Linked DNA regions of Homo sapiens: regions 1, 2 and 4 are each linked to region 3. The links are contacts of gene promoters, found by promoter capture Hi-C in blood cells and fetal thymus (Javierre and others, 2016). All regions are on one chromosome and are shown on one strand. Each heading gives the region's core, a stretch centred on a gene start or on the middle of the fragment in contact. The rest is flanking DNA. Distances are from core to core; before and after follow the strand shown.

The links. Contacts are between HindIII fragments. The CHiCAGO score rates a contact against its expected background, and 5 or more counts as called.
Region 1: a contact is called between a fragment that was not itself captured here and the fragment with the promoter of CNBP in region 3, in 1 of 17 cell types (total CD8 T cells). The highest score is 5.6, in total CD8 T cells.
Region 2: a contact is called between a fragment that was not itself captured here and the fragment with the promoter of CNBP in region 3, in 2 of 17 cell types (fetal thymus and naive CD4 T cells). The highest score is 5.9, in fetal thymus.
Region 4: a contact is called between a fragment that was not itself captured here and the fragment with the promoter of CNBP in region 3, in 1 of 17 cell types (naive CD8 T cells). The highest score is 5.5, in naive CD8 T cells.

What each region holds. Positions count from the first base shown.
Region 1 is chr3:128,916,691-128,919,811 of GRCh38, forward strand. The region is part of intron 12 of CFAP92 (cilia and flagella associated protein 92 (putative)); the gene reads right to left. Among named protein-coding and RNA genes, the nearest start is that of ACAD9, 39 kb to the left of the region's middle. The HindIII fragment of the contact is 904 bases long and covers 1,317-2,220 here.
Region 2 is chr3:128,797,185-128,800,198 of GRCh38, forward strand. It overlaps RAB7A (RAB7A, member RAS oncogene family), which reads left to right. Exons shown (of 6, transcript NM_004637.6): 3 at 759-885. It also overlaps the pseudogene RPS15AP16. Among named protein-coding and RNA genes, the nearest start is that of MIR12124, 48 kb to the right of the region's middle. The HindIII fragment of the contact is 2,076 bases long and covers 432-2,507 here.
Region 3 is chr3:129,182,537-129,185,464 of GRCh38, forward strand. CNBP (CCHC-type zinc finger nucleic acid binding protein) reads right to left here and starts at 1,360. Exons shown (of 5, transcript NM_003418.5): 1 at 1,240-1,360. It overlaps LOC105374101 (a long non-coding RNA gene), which reads left to right and starts at 1,538. Exons shown (of 2, transcript XR_924469.3): 1 at 1,538-1,936. RefSeq lists an enhancer at 1,694-1,783. The HindIII fragment of the contact is 13,108 bases long and covers 1-2,928 here.
Region 4 is chr3:128,731,648-128,734,775 of GRCh38, forward strand. The region is part of intron 1 of RAB7A (RAB7A, member RAS oncogene family); the gene reads left to right. Among named protein-coding and RNA genes, the nearest start is that of RAB7A, 7.0 kb to the left of the region's middle. The HindIII fragment of the contact is 3,728 bases long and covers 1-3,128 here.

The DNA of each region.
Region 1 (3,121 bases), core at 519-3,018, 270 kb before region 3:
TCTGTCCAGCAGGCCCAGTAAGGAAATGGGAACTCTTCCCTGAACAGAGAGAAATAAGATGGTCTGTTGGCTTCCTTTGTGAATGAAAATAGAAATGTGGAAGGAGATAAAAGACAACACAGAAGGCTGGGGGGAAAGGTGGCTGGGACCCAAAACAAGGGAGAACTGGGAAAGTTACCACTCTAAATTGTTGGGCACTGTGCAGTGTTTCATATGCATATTTCACAGTAACCTTCAGCAAAATACCATCTTTTACCTTTAAAAAATTTTTTAGCACAAGATGGTGACCTTAGCTCAACTACAGTGGCTTGACTTTGGAATCTTTGAGGAATTAATGCACAAGAATTTAAAATAATCAGGGGAGGACAAAATTTGTGATTCACACACATGAAAGAACAGACTGTCCAGGCAACAAGGGATGCAAGGTAAAGGCAAGTCTAGGTCCTCAGACTTTGGAGCACCTGCGAGAAGATTATACTAGGGATGCCACATAGAGCAAGGATCCTGTCATGGCCCACATGGAACTTCAATCAATATTTCTTGATGTGTCCAGTTTTTCTAGTTGTCCTTAGTGGGGGAGTTGATCTGAGTTTCTCAGTTAGCCATTCCTAGAAGTCCCCTGCTCCTTCCAAATCCTAGAATTCGTGAATTACAACCTAGGGGGACAGATTCTTCTTTCCATGCTACTCCTTTCTTACAATTTGAAGTTGAAATTCTGACCTAATGCTTATTACAGGGAAAGCAAACTGTTCCGTAGTTCTTCTGGGTGCCTGAGATTCTCTGCTGAGGGGTGACACCTGCAGGAGAATTTGGACTCAGAGCAAAAGTAACTAGATGCTGGAGAAGTAAATACAGTATTTAAAAAAGGCCACAGACTGAACAACTGAAGCTAAATTATTGGAAAAGATGGGCTAAGAATTTAACATAAGAAATTGTTTTAAAATAAGAGTGAAGATAGCAATATGAAGCAGAAGTAAAACTAAAAGAAAAAGTATTGAGTATGAAAATAGTTGAAATAGAAGACAAGAGAATGAGATATATTGCAGAAGTGATACTGTTGTAGAACGAATGAATGAACTGGAATATCCACTTGAGATATGCTTTCAGAAAGCAGTCCTGTATAAAAAAGATAAAATTAGAAACTGAGTATAGAGGATGGAAATAACATCCAAATAACAGAAATCCCAAAAGGAGGGGAAAAGTGAGAACAAGAAAATTTGAAGCAATAATGAATGTCAGAAAAGACAAAACTTCCAAGCCTGGGTACACTATTATTAGTGGGATTTAAGCAAACAAATACAAAGATAAACTCTCAAAGCTTCTAGAGGAAAAGAGCAGGCCACCTGTAAAGAAAAACTATCACTTGTGATCAGATCCACAACAGCAACAAGGTAAGTTAACTTCAACCTACAATTTCATATCCAAGCAAACTAATTGTGAGGGCTTAGGTTTAAAGGCCTTAGGTTTTACATAAAACCCTCCTTTAAAAACTCTTGGGGCCAGATGTGGTGGCTCATGCCTGTAATCCCAGTACTTTGGGAAGCCTAGGCAGGCAGATCATCTGAGGTCAGAAGTTCAAGACCAGCTTGGCCAACATACAGTGAAACCCTTTCCATACTAAAAAATACAAAAATTAGCTGGGCATGGTGGCACACGCCTGTAGTCCCAGCCACTTGGGAAGCTGAGGCAGGAGAATCGCTTGAATCCAGGAGGCAGAGGTTGCATTGAGCCGAGATCATGCCACTCTACTCCAGCCTGGGTGACAGAGCCAGACTCCGTCTCAAAAAAACAAAACAAAAGTCACAAAACTCTTTGGAGAAATTCAAAATGGAGGAGGAACATGCAGGAGGATTCAAGGTTAGCAAGTAATGTCCGATAGCCTAGTAAAGTTGTCTTAAAAGGACTAGGAAAATAAAATTTCAGAGCCTGGAATTGAAATTCTAGAGACTATAAAAGGGATGGTGGAGTGTGGGTAGGAGATGAGATAAAAGGGATGTAAATGTACAATTTGTCTTATAAAGAGAATATAGTTTTATGAGTTTAATGTTCAGTAGGAATGCCTAACCATATGGTCTTCAGGATAACCACCTTAAAAAGAAAGATAGAATGTATAACTTAAGTCCACAGAAGAAAACTTGATCTATCCAAGGAACACAGGAACGGAGGGTTTAAAAGTAGATTAGGTGGCAAAAATGCCTAACCTAACAGTAATTAATGTTAAGCTTGCCAATTAAAGAATCTCAGATTGGATTTTTTTTTTTTTTTTTTTTTTTTGAGACAGAGTTTTGCTCTTGTTGCCCAGGTTGGAGTGGAATGGCGCGATCTTGGCTTACTACAACCTCCGCCTCCCGAGATGAAGTGATTCTCCTGCCTCAGCCTCCCAAGTAGCTGGGATTACAGGCGTGTGCCACCACGCCTGGCTAATTTTGTATTTTTAGTAGAGACAGGGTTTCACCATGTTCAGGCTGGTCTCGAACGCCAGACTTCAAGCGATCCACCCACTTCAGCTTCCCAAAGTGTTGGGATTACAGGCGTGAGCCACTGCACCCAGCCTGGATTTTTTTTTCAAGCTAACAATATGCTATCTACAAAACTTTCAACACAAAGATACAGGTTTGACAACTAAAGGGAGACAGCATATACACTAGGCAAAAAGGCATGAGAAAACAAAGACAAAAAAGCTGTGTGGCATTCTTAATATCTGCTGAAACAATTCAAGTTAAAAATCTATCAAAAGGGGCAAAAGGATATTGTATATTGAGGACAACAAAAAGGGATAACTTGTAAATATATATGCACCTAGCAATATAGTCTCAAAATATATTAAGAAACAACTGACAGGATTACAAGAAGAAATAGACATCTATCTAACATCACTGGAGAACAACCAAGGCAACCAGGATTTGAGAGTCCAAGAATCTGGAGAAAAGGGAAATAATGGTGGTTCCATTTTCTTTTTGCAGTTTTCTCTCAAGGGATTTACTGACTCCTAATTTGCACATGGATAAGGCAGAAATAAGAACATAAGCAGAAAAAGAAGCTTAAGAAGTTTAGAAGCTAAGGAGGTATTTTGGAAAATGCTGCATTGCTAGAGAAACAAAATTGGATTTCAAAATTGGAA
Region 2 (3,014 bases), core at 220-2,719, 390 kb before region 3:
TCTGGGTTGGAAAACACTGCCTTCGGCTGTCTAGGTACCTCCAGGTTCTTTAACACAAATATGAACATGTTCCTTTGTGGCCAAGAAAGGTGATATCACTGGCTATGGGGGGGAAGGTTTTTGTATTAGCTTTAGGTTACCTTAACCTTATCACACAAAAATCACACATTGTCTCTTGCTGAGTTTTCTTACTAGAAAACATATTTGGAGGAGCATTCTTTGAGGTGGATTTGTTTTGGTGATATATTGGTGCTTTTTCTGCTTCAGATTTTAAACTTTAAAGCAGCAAATTGTCTGAGTGGTGTGTGTCTGCTGAAAGCCAAGGTCTTCCTCCTGGTGTTACTTCATCAAGCTAAATAGCAGCCACTAAATGGAGAAACATCTAAGATAGCAGGGATACTGTTGGAATAGCAGAACAGTCTTAATAGTGAAGCTTCTTTTAGAAAGCAGTATATTTGCTGGCATCCTTCTAGAATGGAAAAAATAATACTAGGCTCTACCATTTGACCTGGCTGTGCCAAAACATGTAAGCAGCTTTTCCACATCTGCCCCACATCTGTACCCTATATTTTTACCCAGAGAGAAAACACAAAACTTCAAAAGTGTAATGCTCGGAAGGCTACTGGCATTGCCCTTTGCTGTGAGGGCAGTTTCTTGTCCTTCAGGTCAGGCAGATTCTTTTAAATGCTTCAAGTAATTCGTGTCAGTTTCAGGACCCTCCTATTTGACTTATACTTATGGTTTTTCTCCAATTTCAGAGTCGGGAAGACATCACTCATGAACCAGTATGTGAATAAGAAATTCAGCAATCAGTACAAAGCCACAATAGGAGCTGACTTTCTGACCAAGGAGGTGATGGTGGATGACAGGCTAGTCACAATGCAGGTAAGCACATGTCTTGGCTGTGCTGACCAGGCCTTGATAGTTCATTTAGTCTTAATCTTTCCTCATGCATAGACATTTTCCTTCCCTGTTCTTCAAATCTTATTATCTTATTTGTAGATAATTGGCTGATACTCAGTTAAATTTGAATTTCAGATCAATAGTGAATACTTTTTTAGTATACTTCTAGTGTATCTCAGATACGACTTGCTAAGACACACTAAAAAATTCTTCTTAAAAAAAAACTCAGATTTATCCTTTCTTGTTTTTTGTTGTTTTTGGTTTTGTTGTTTGCTAAATTTGGCAACCTGCAGGTCTCTGTCTTGTGCCTCTCTTGACATCCTTGCCCAGTGCTTTAGGTAAACATCTTTGTCTCACCTCAGTAGTGAGACATAAACTTTATTTTTCTGACTTCCTATTTCATACGTAACTTCAAGAGTTGTGTGTCTATTGAGCCAATCTTTTTTTTATGTATCAGCTTATTAATCTTTCAAGGGTTCCCTTTCAACAGTTAGGATAAGATACAGATTCTTTCATATGACTTGTTGAAAAGCCTTCACATTCTGGCTATAAACTATTATTCCCTTTTTTTCCCCCATTGAGTCATTTTGTTTGTATACATGTATTAACATCCCTAGAAAAGAAACCCCTGAAGGATGGATACCTTGAGCCCAGGAGTTTGAGCCTGCAGTGAGCTGTGACTGCTCCATTATACTCCAGCCTGGGTGATGGAGTGAGACCCTGTCTCTAAATTTAAAAAAAAAAAAAAAAAAAAAAAAGAATCCCAGGATTTTCCCTCCTGTATTTTCATCTCTTTCTTCATGGTCCATGATGCCAGCTGAGGTTGTCAGTACAACCTCACTTTGAAACCAAACTATTGGGATAGGAGTAGATTATCCTGTCATTTTTCTAGATCTTTGAGTTGCACATCACATCTGGGGCCAATCATTCCAGGGGCAGTTTTAACCTGCCTGTGAGGTTTACAGTAATTTTCCCAGCTCTGTGATGACCAGTGATTTCAAATTTTCAATGTGATCATGTTTCATCTTCACACTTAGAACCAGACCATGACTTGGGAGCACAGCCTAATAAGAACCTGGTGTTTGCCCTTGAGAGCATCAGCCAAGACGTTCATGCATTACGGAGGCAAGAAAAGATGGTGGAAATAGCTGTTACTCACTTTTTTTTTTTTTGTCTCGTTCCAGTCATTCCGAATCATGTGCTGCTCTTACAGACTTGTGTTGGTGGATATGTCTCTGCTTCCAGCAGGGCCTGTATACCCACCTGAAGTCTCCAACTTTTAGCTCAGATCTTTGGAAACTTCTATCTCCATGGCAGTTGTTCTTTCCTATGTGCTTCTAGAGGCAAATACAATTCTAATCCCATTATAGTCCTAGAAAGTACCTGGCAAATAGTGGGGGCTTGCTGAAATGTGTGAATGATGTAGGTTAAAGGTAGAAATTTGTGCACGTGTTGACCTCGAGCCATGGCATGCTCCTAGAGGATCAGGACTCTTAATTGACTCACACTTCTAGGACAGAGCTGGTATGAATCTCTCATCCTCACCTCACCTACACACATACACCTAGAGATCTTCAAAATGTAACTACAGTTTAAGCAAGTCAAGCTTGAGAGTAGAACTGGAAAACCTTGGCCCAAGAAATTGGCAAAGCTTGTGTCTGCAGTTGTTGGAGATTCTCAGTCCCACTCTCCACATGTACAGAAATCTTTGTCTCAAAGGATTTAACATAAATCCCTGTCATTCCTGGCAAAAACAAGGGTAAGACCACTCTGTAGGGACATTTAGTACCGCAGGAGAGAAGATGAGTTCATAACCACATGAGGAAATAATGTACCACAAGAGATGTTCACAATGACTAGAGATGTTCTAAAAAGAAATAGAAACCATAATGGAAAGGGATACTATAAAAAAATGAGGATATGGAAAACTTAGAACTTCAAGAAGTGAAAACATAGTATTGAAATAAGCTAAAGGAACAGTTAAACTGTAGATTAAATGGAGCTGAAAAAAGCAGTAAGCCGTAAGAGCTGAGCAAATTTTCTAAAAGAAGACTTAAAATTGTAGAAGACCGAAAAGCAAAATCTTAAGAGCAACTATAGAAAAAAAAGAC
Region 3 (2,928 bases), core at 110-2,609:
CCATTCTAAAACAGGTTCTCACGATATGGAAAAATCTAGATGGAGGGGAGCTAGTTGAATTTCGTGTCTCGTTTGTAATTACATCTGTTTCATTAATCCAAGAAATGATGCAGACTACCGCCCGCTGCTGTGGTTTTGGAGGTTTGACAAATTCGTGTTTTTTCTGGTAATGGCGCTTTTAAAGGATCCCAGCAACTTAAATAGTGTTAACTCTTGGAATGTGAGCCCCATCAGCCCCTTTTGGAATGGTAATGTAACACAAGCAACTTAGTATTTAAATGACGATAAAAATTCAAGAATCGGAAAACTATCAAGGATAGGGAGTATAAACTCTAAAAGCTCCCAAGTCTTCCAGCAGTCTCGCCACTCCAAACACAAAGGCTTCTTCAGGAACCCTTTGTTGTTGTTTGTTTGTTTGTTTGTTTGTTTTTTTAAGACGGAGTCTCTCTCTGTTGCCCATGCTGGAGTGTAGTGGCGCGATCTCGGCTCACCACAACCTCGGCCTCCGGGGTTCACGCGATTCTCCTGTCCAGCCTCCCGAGCTGCTGGGACTACATGCGCCCGCCACCATGCCCGGCTAATTTTTTATTTTTAGTACAGACCAACTTTCACCATATTGGTCAGGCTGGTCTCGAACTCCTGACCTCGTGATCCGCCCGCCTGGGACTCTCAAAGTGCTGGGATTACAGGCGTGAGCCACCGCGCCCGGCCTAAGAACCCTTTTCTAAGGCCCCCAAAACCCTTGGCACATGGCCCGCCAGGCGCACGACCCCAGCACATGGCCTGCACGACTATACCCACCCCATCCCCCCTTCATCCGCAGCCGGGAGCCTTTCCCCACCACACGGACTCCTTCCAGTGAGTTCCCGCCAAATCCACCCTCGGTCCCTCATTCCGCGACCCTCGAAGCGTCAGGGCCTCGGCCCCAAGGGCGCACGGGCGGGCCTCCTCTGCCCTAAGCCTGCGGCCTGGGGTGCGGCCGTGGCGCCGAAAGACCCGCATGCTCGGCGACCCAGCTTTCCAGGACGAAGAAAGGACAGAAGTGTCGTCCGACAGCGGTGCGCCAGAAACCCGGGTCCGAGGCGGCGGCAGCAGCCGAGCTTCCCGCCTGACGCAGCAGAGGCGCAGGCCAAAGTGCGGCCGCCATCGCCACCTCGCCGCTCCCTACCCTCTCTGTCCGCCACAGACCCGACCCGCACTGCGGCTCCGTCAGCGCCGGGCCCCTCCCCCAGCCCTCACCTTCCGCGTCGGAGCGGGCCCGCAGCGGCGGAGACTCGGACGCAGGCCTGGGGAAGACGGCTCGCAAGGTAGAGGCTGTTTATTTTGAGGGTCCTTGCCTGCGCCACACGCGGGTCTGCACACGGCCCCACATACGCCGCTGCGCACGGCTCTCCTCCGCCTCGCCCACGCGGCCAATCAGCGCGCGGGGTTCGGCAGTCCAATCAGAGCCGCCCGCGGCAGGGCCGCCCACTAGAGCGCGGCGCGGGGCGGGTGTTTCTGCGCGCAGCGTCTTTTCCCGCCGTGCCCCGCGCGCGGCCTTTCACGCCGGGATCCGGGTCCCGGTGCTTCTCGGTTCATTCCCAGCTGGGTCCGGGCCCGGCCAGACTGGGTGGAAATCTGGCTGACCTTGGTGGTCTGTCTTGGCCAGCTGGAGCAAAGGGATGCCAGGGGACGGGTCTCGGTGCAGTGACTGCCATTAGCTTGGGGCCGCAGAAAGTTTCTCCCCTTTCTCGGGCTCCTGCCAGGCCCTTGGCTTTCAGAGCCAGGCCCGATTTCTAGATAACATTTAAGTTTGCAGAAAAGGGGATGCCAAGTCACGGTGGTCACGGCTGTGGGATGCAGCCTCTGAGATTTGTATTAATTTTTGTGAGCCGGGGAAAGGCCTTGCTGCTTTCTCCGCCAGGACTGATGTGTCTTCCCAAGATGAAAGTGCCTGGTAAGGGCGAGGGGCCTCCCTGGGAAGGTCATGAGCATGTAAGGTAATGGGGCCTAGACTGTGACTTTTGGCACGTTTATGAGTGACATCCCCCGGGAGGGCAAGGATAACCATTTGACCTGGTCTGTCATATTCAGGAATAGACTTCAGTTTAGTTGTGGTATTTTCTCCAAAAGAGATTTGTGTATATAGCCCTAGATAGTCTTGTCAAGATTAAACCCAATTTAAACTGTTAACTATAAAATATTTTAGAATTTTGTCTCATTCTAGAATGGCTTTATTCGAAACAAAAAAAAAGGAAGAGTCCCAAGTTTCGTCTCAGTGAAACCTGCCAGTTCAACACTATGATTTATTTTTCTTTTTTTCTTTAATTTTTTTTTTTTTTAAGAGTAGGGTCTTGCTCTGTCGCTGGGTTTACAGGCATAAGCCACCAATCCCAAATCCCGGGGCTATGATTTTTGAAATCATGTTCGTGAGAAGGCAGAGCACATGTGTTGAGAGTCAGACTTTAAACCTGGGTTCAAATCATTAGTGCTTAATCATTGTAAAGCAGTTAGGAGGTTGCGTTCAACATAGCAATTATCAAAGAATGAATGTATAACTTTAAAGACCAATGATATTTTAAACTTTTTTTTTTTTTTGAGAACGGAGTCTCACTCCGTTGCCCAGGCTGGAGTGCAATGGCACGATCTCAGCTCACTGCAACCTCCGCCTCCTGGATTCAAGTGATTCTCCTGCCTCAGCCTCCCCAGTAGCTGGGATTATAGGCATGCGCCACCACGCCCGGCTAATTTTGTATTTTTAGTATAGGCGGGGTTTCTCCATGTTGGTCAGGCTGGTCTCAAACTCCCGACCTCAGGTGATCCGCCCACCCAAAGTGGTGATCGTCCTCCCAAAGCACTGGGATTACAGGCATGAGCCACCGCGCCTGGCCGAACTTTTTAAATTTATTTATTACTATTTTTTGAGACAGGGTCTCCCTCTGTTGCCCA
Region 4 (3,128 bases), core at 174-2,673, 450 kb before region 3:
TGTACCATCCTGCCTTTCCATTATATGCTAGTGCCCTAAAGACCACGACATTTCACCCCTTGTAAAAGTGTATCTTTCGGCCGGGGGCGATGGCTCACACCTGTAATCCCAGCACTTTGGGAGGCCGAGGAGGGTGGATCACAGGGTCAAGAGATAGAGACCATCCTGGCCAACGTGGTGAAACCCCGTCTATACTAAAAATATAAAAATTAGCTGGGCATAGTGGCATGCACTGTAGTCCCAGCTATTCAGGAGGCTGAGGTAGTAGAATCGCTTGAACTGGGGAGGCGGAGCTTGCAGTGAGCCGGGATCGTGCCATTGCACTCCAGCCTGGCGACAGAGCAAGATTCCATCTCAAAAAAAAAAAAAAGTGTCTCTTTCTTCCACTACCTTTTTTTTTTTTCTCTCTCTGAGACAGAGTCAAGCTCTGTCGCCAGGCTGGAGTGCAGTAGCATGATCTCGGCTCACTGCAACCTCCGCCTCTCGGGTTCAAGCAATTCTCCTGCCTCAGCCTCCTGAGTAGCTGGGGCTACAGGTGCACGTCACCATGCCCAGCTAATTTTTGTATTTTTAGTATAGATGGGGTTTCACCATGTTGGCCAGGATGGTCTCAATCCCTTGACCCTGTGATCCGCCCGCCTTGGCCTCCCAAGGTGCTGGGATTACAGGCGTGAACCACCACGCCTGGCCCACTACCTTTTATTTAAAATGATACGTCTTTTTTGCTGATTATTAAACTATTCAGTTAAAAAAAAAAAGCTAGGAAAATTCAGAAATATAAAGAAGGAAAATTTGTGATTCACTACCCCGAGGAAGACCAAAGTGTTAACTGGTTATTTTCTTCCTTTGAATGTATACTTTCATACCTTCCTTTAATGAGATTGAACTCTTGGCCAGGCATGGTGGTCAGTACTTTGGGAGGAGTAATCCCAGCACTTTGGGAGGGTAAGGCAGGAGGATTGCTTGAGCCCAGGAGTTCAAGACCACCTTCAGCAACAAAGTAAGACTCCATCTCTACAAAGAAAAGAAAAAATTAGGTGGGTGTGGTGGTACACTTGTGGTTCCAGATGGTGGGAGGCTGAGACGGGAGGATCACTTGATTCCAGGAGTTTAAGGCTGCAGTGGTTTGTGTTCGTGGCACTGCACTCCAGCCTGGGTGGCAGAGCAAGACCCTGTCTCAAGAAAAAAGAAATTGAACTCTCCCCAAAAATGATGTGAGAATTTAACTGTGGAGGAGACCAGATACTCTTGGGTGATGTGACCTGTGATACTTCTCCTAGTAGACACTGAATGATGAGAAGCTGGGGATCATAGGAATAGCTGTATTTTTCAAATGTTTGTTGGTAACGAGTGAGGAACCTGATGCATCCAGCTCCAGAGTAAGGTTTATTTGCCATGGTAACACTGGATAAGTACATTGTTGCCTGTATTTCCAAGTAATTTATCATTTCTGTATTTTAGTAAACATACATATATACAGAAAAGTGCACAAATAAGTGGACGGCTTAGAGAATTTTTATAAACCCAGAGGCCCTCTTAGTCTCCTTTAAGTCATTATCATCGATGCCCTGATGCTTGCGTAGTGAGTCTTCTGATTTCTAGAACTGTAGACTAATTTTGCCTGATTTGGATTTTGTGTAAATGGAATCATACACTGTGTATTCTTGCGTATCTGGTTTCTTTGACTCAGTGTTGTTTGTGAGACTTTGTGTTGTTGTGTACAGTTGTAACTGGAGTTTCCATTGCTCAGTAGTATTATGTGATATATCATAATGTATTTAAGTAAAAAGACTGAGTTTTAGGGTATGTGTCTGTATTCATTTGCTAGGGCTGCCGTAACAAGTATCACAGATAGAGTGGCTTAAACAGAAATTTATTTTCTCAATTCTGAAGGTTAGAAATCTGAGGTCAAGCTGTCGGGAGGATTAGTTTCTTCTGAAGCCTCTCCTTGGTTTGTAAATGACTGTCTTCTCTTCCCTGTATCTTCACAGGATCTTTCCTCTGTATTGGCTGTGTCCTATTCTCCTTTTCTTTTAGGACACCAGTCGTATTGGATTGAGGCCCACCCTTATGACCTCACTTAACCTCAGTTACTTCTTTAAAGGCCCTGTCTGCAAATAAGTCACATTCTGATATATTGGGGATTAGAATTTCAACTTAAAAATTTTAGGTGGACACAGTTCACTTCATAAGAGTATCTATTCTGCTCTAGTAGATATGGCCAGTTTTCAAAAGTTGTACCAGCGTATTCTTCCACCAGCAGTATATAAGAAGTCCAAATATTCCACATCCTTGCTAGCACTTGTAACTTTTTCTCTCTAATTTTAGTTCCCTCTGGTAGAAAGCCATTTCTTTATGGCACCATGGTACAGCTTGTTTACTCACCAGTGTAGGGGAACCTCAAGGGACTGGGGAAGGTTATCCTGGAGTAAAACGTGTCAGTTTGAGACTACCTCTTGTAAATGCTACTTAAATCCATTGGGGTTAAAAGCAGAGGTTCGGCCAGGCACAGTGGCTCATGCCTGTAATCCCAGCACTTTGGGAGACCGAGGTGGGCGGATCACTTGAGGCCAGGAGTTCAAGACCAGCCTGGCCAACATAGCGAAACCCTGTGTCTACTGAAAATACAAAAAATTAGCCAGGCGTGGTGGTGGGCACTTGTAATTCCAGCTACTTGGGAGGCTGAGACATGACAATCGCTCGAACCTGGGAGGTGGATGTTGCATGAGAATCGCTTGAACCTGGGAGGTGGAGCTGAGATTTCACCACTGCACTCTAGCCTGGGCGACAGAATGAGACCCTACCTCAAAAAAAAAAAAAAAAAAAAAAAGGAAAGAAAAGAAAGAAAGGAAAACACCGCTTCAGTCCAGTGAATGAGCAGTTAGTCTTCCATAGTTGCCCATAGCTTACTTTTATAGTCTGGACTCCATTCCTGGTGGTGGAATTGGCCTGTGAAAGAGTAATCTGTGGGGTGTAGATCTAACCATAGTAGATGGTGCTTTCATTCCAACTCTCTTTTTTGGTCAGACACTTGAGCCCTTAGAATATCACATTCTATCGTACATATGCTAGAAATAGGTCTGTTTTGCATATTCTGACTGACCCTTCAGATATTAGTGGGCCTTTCA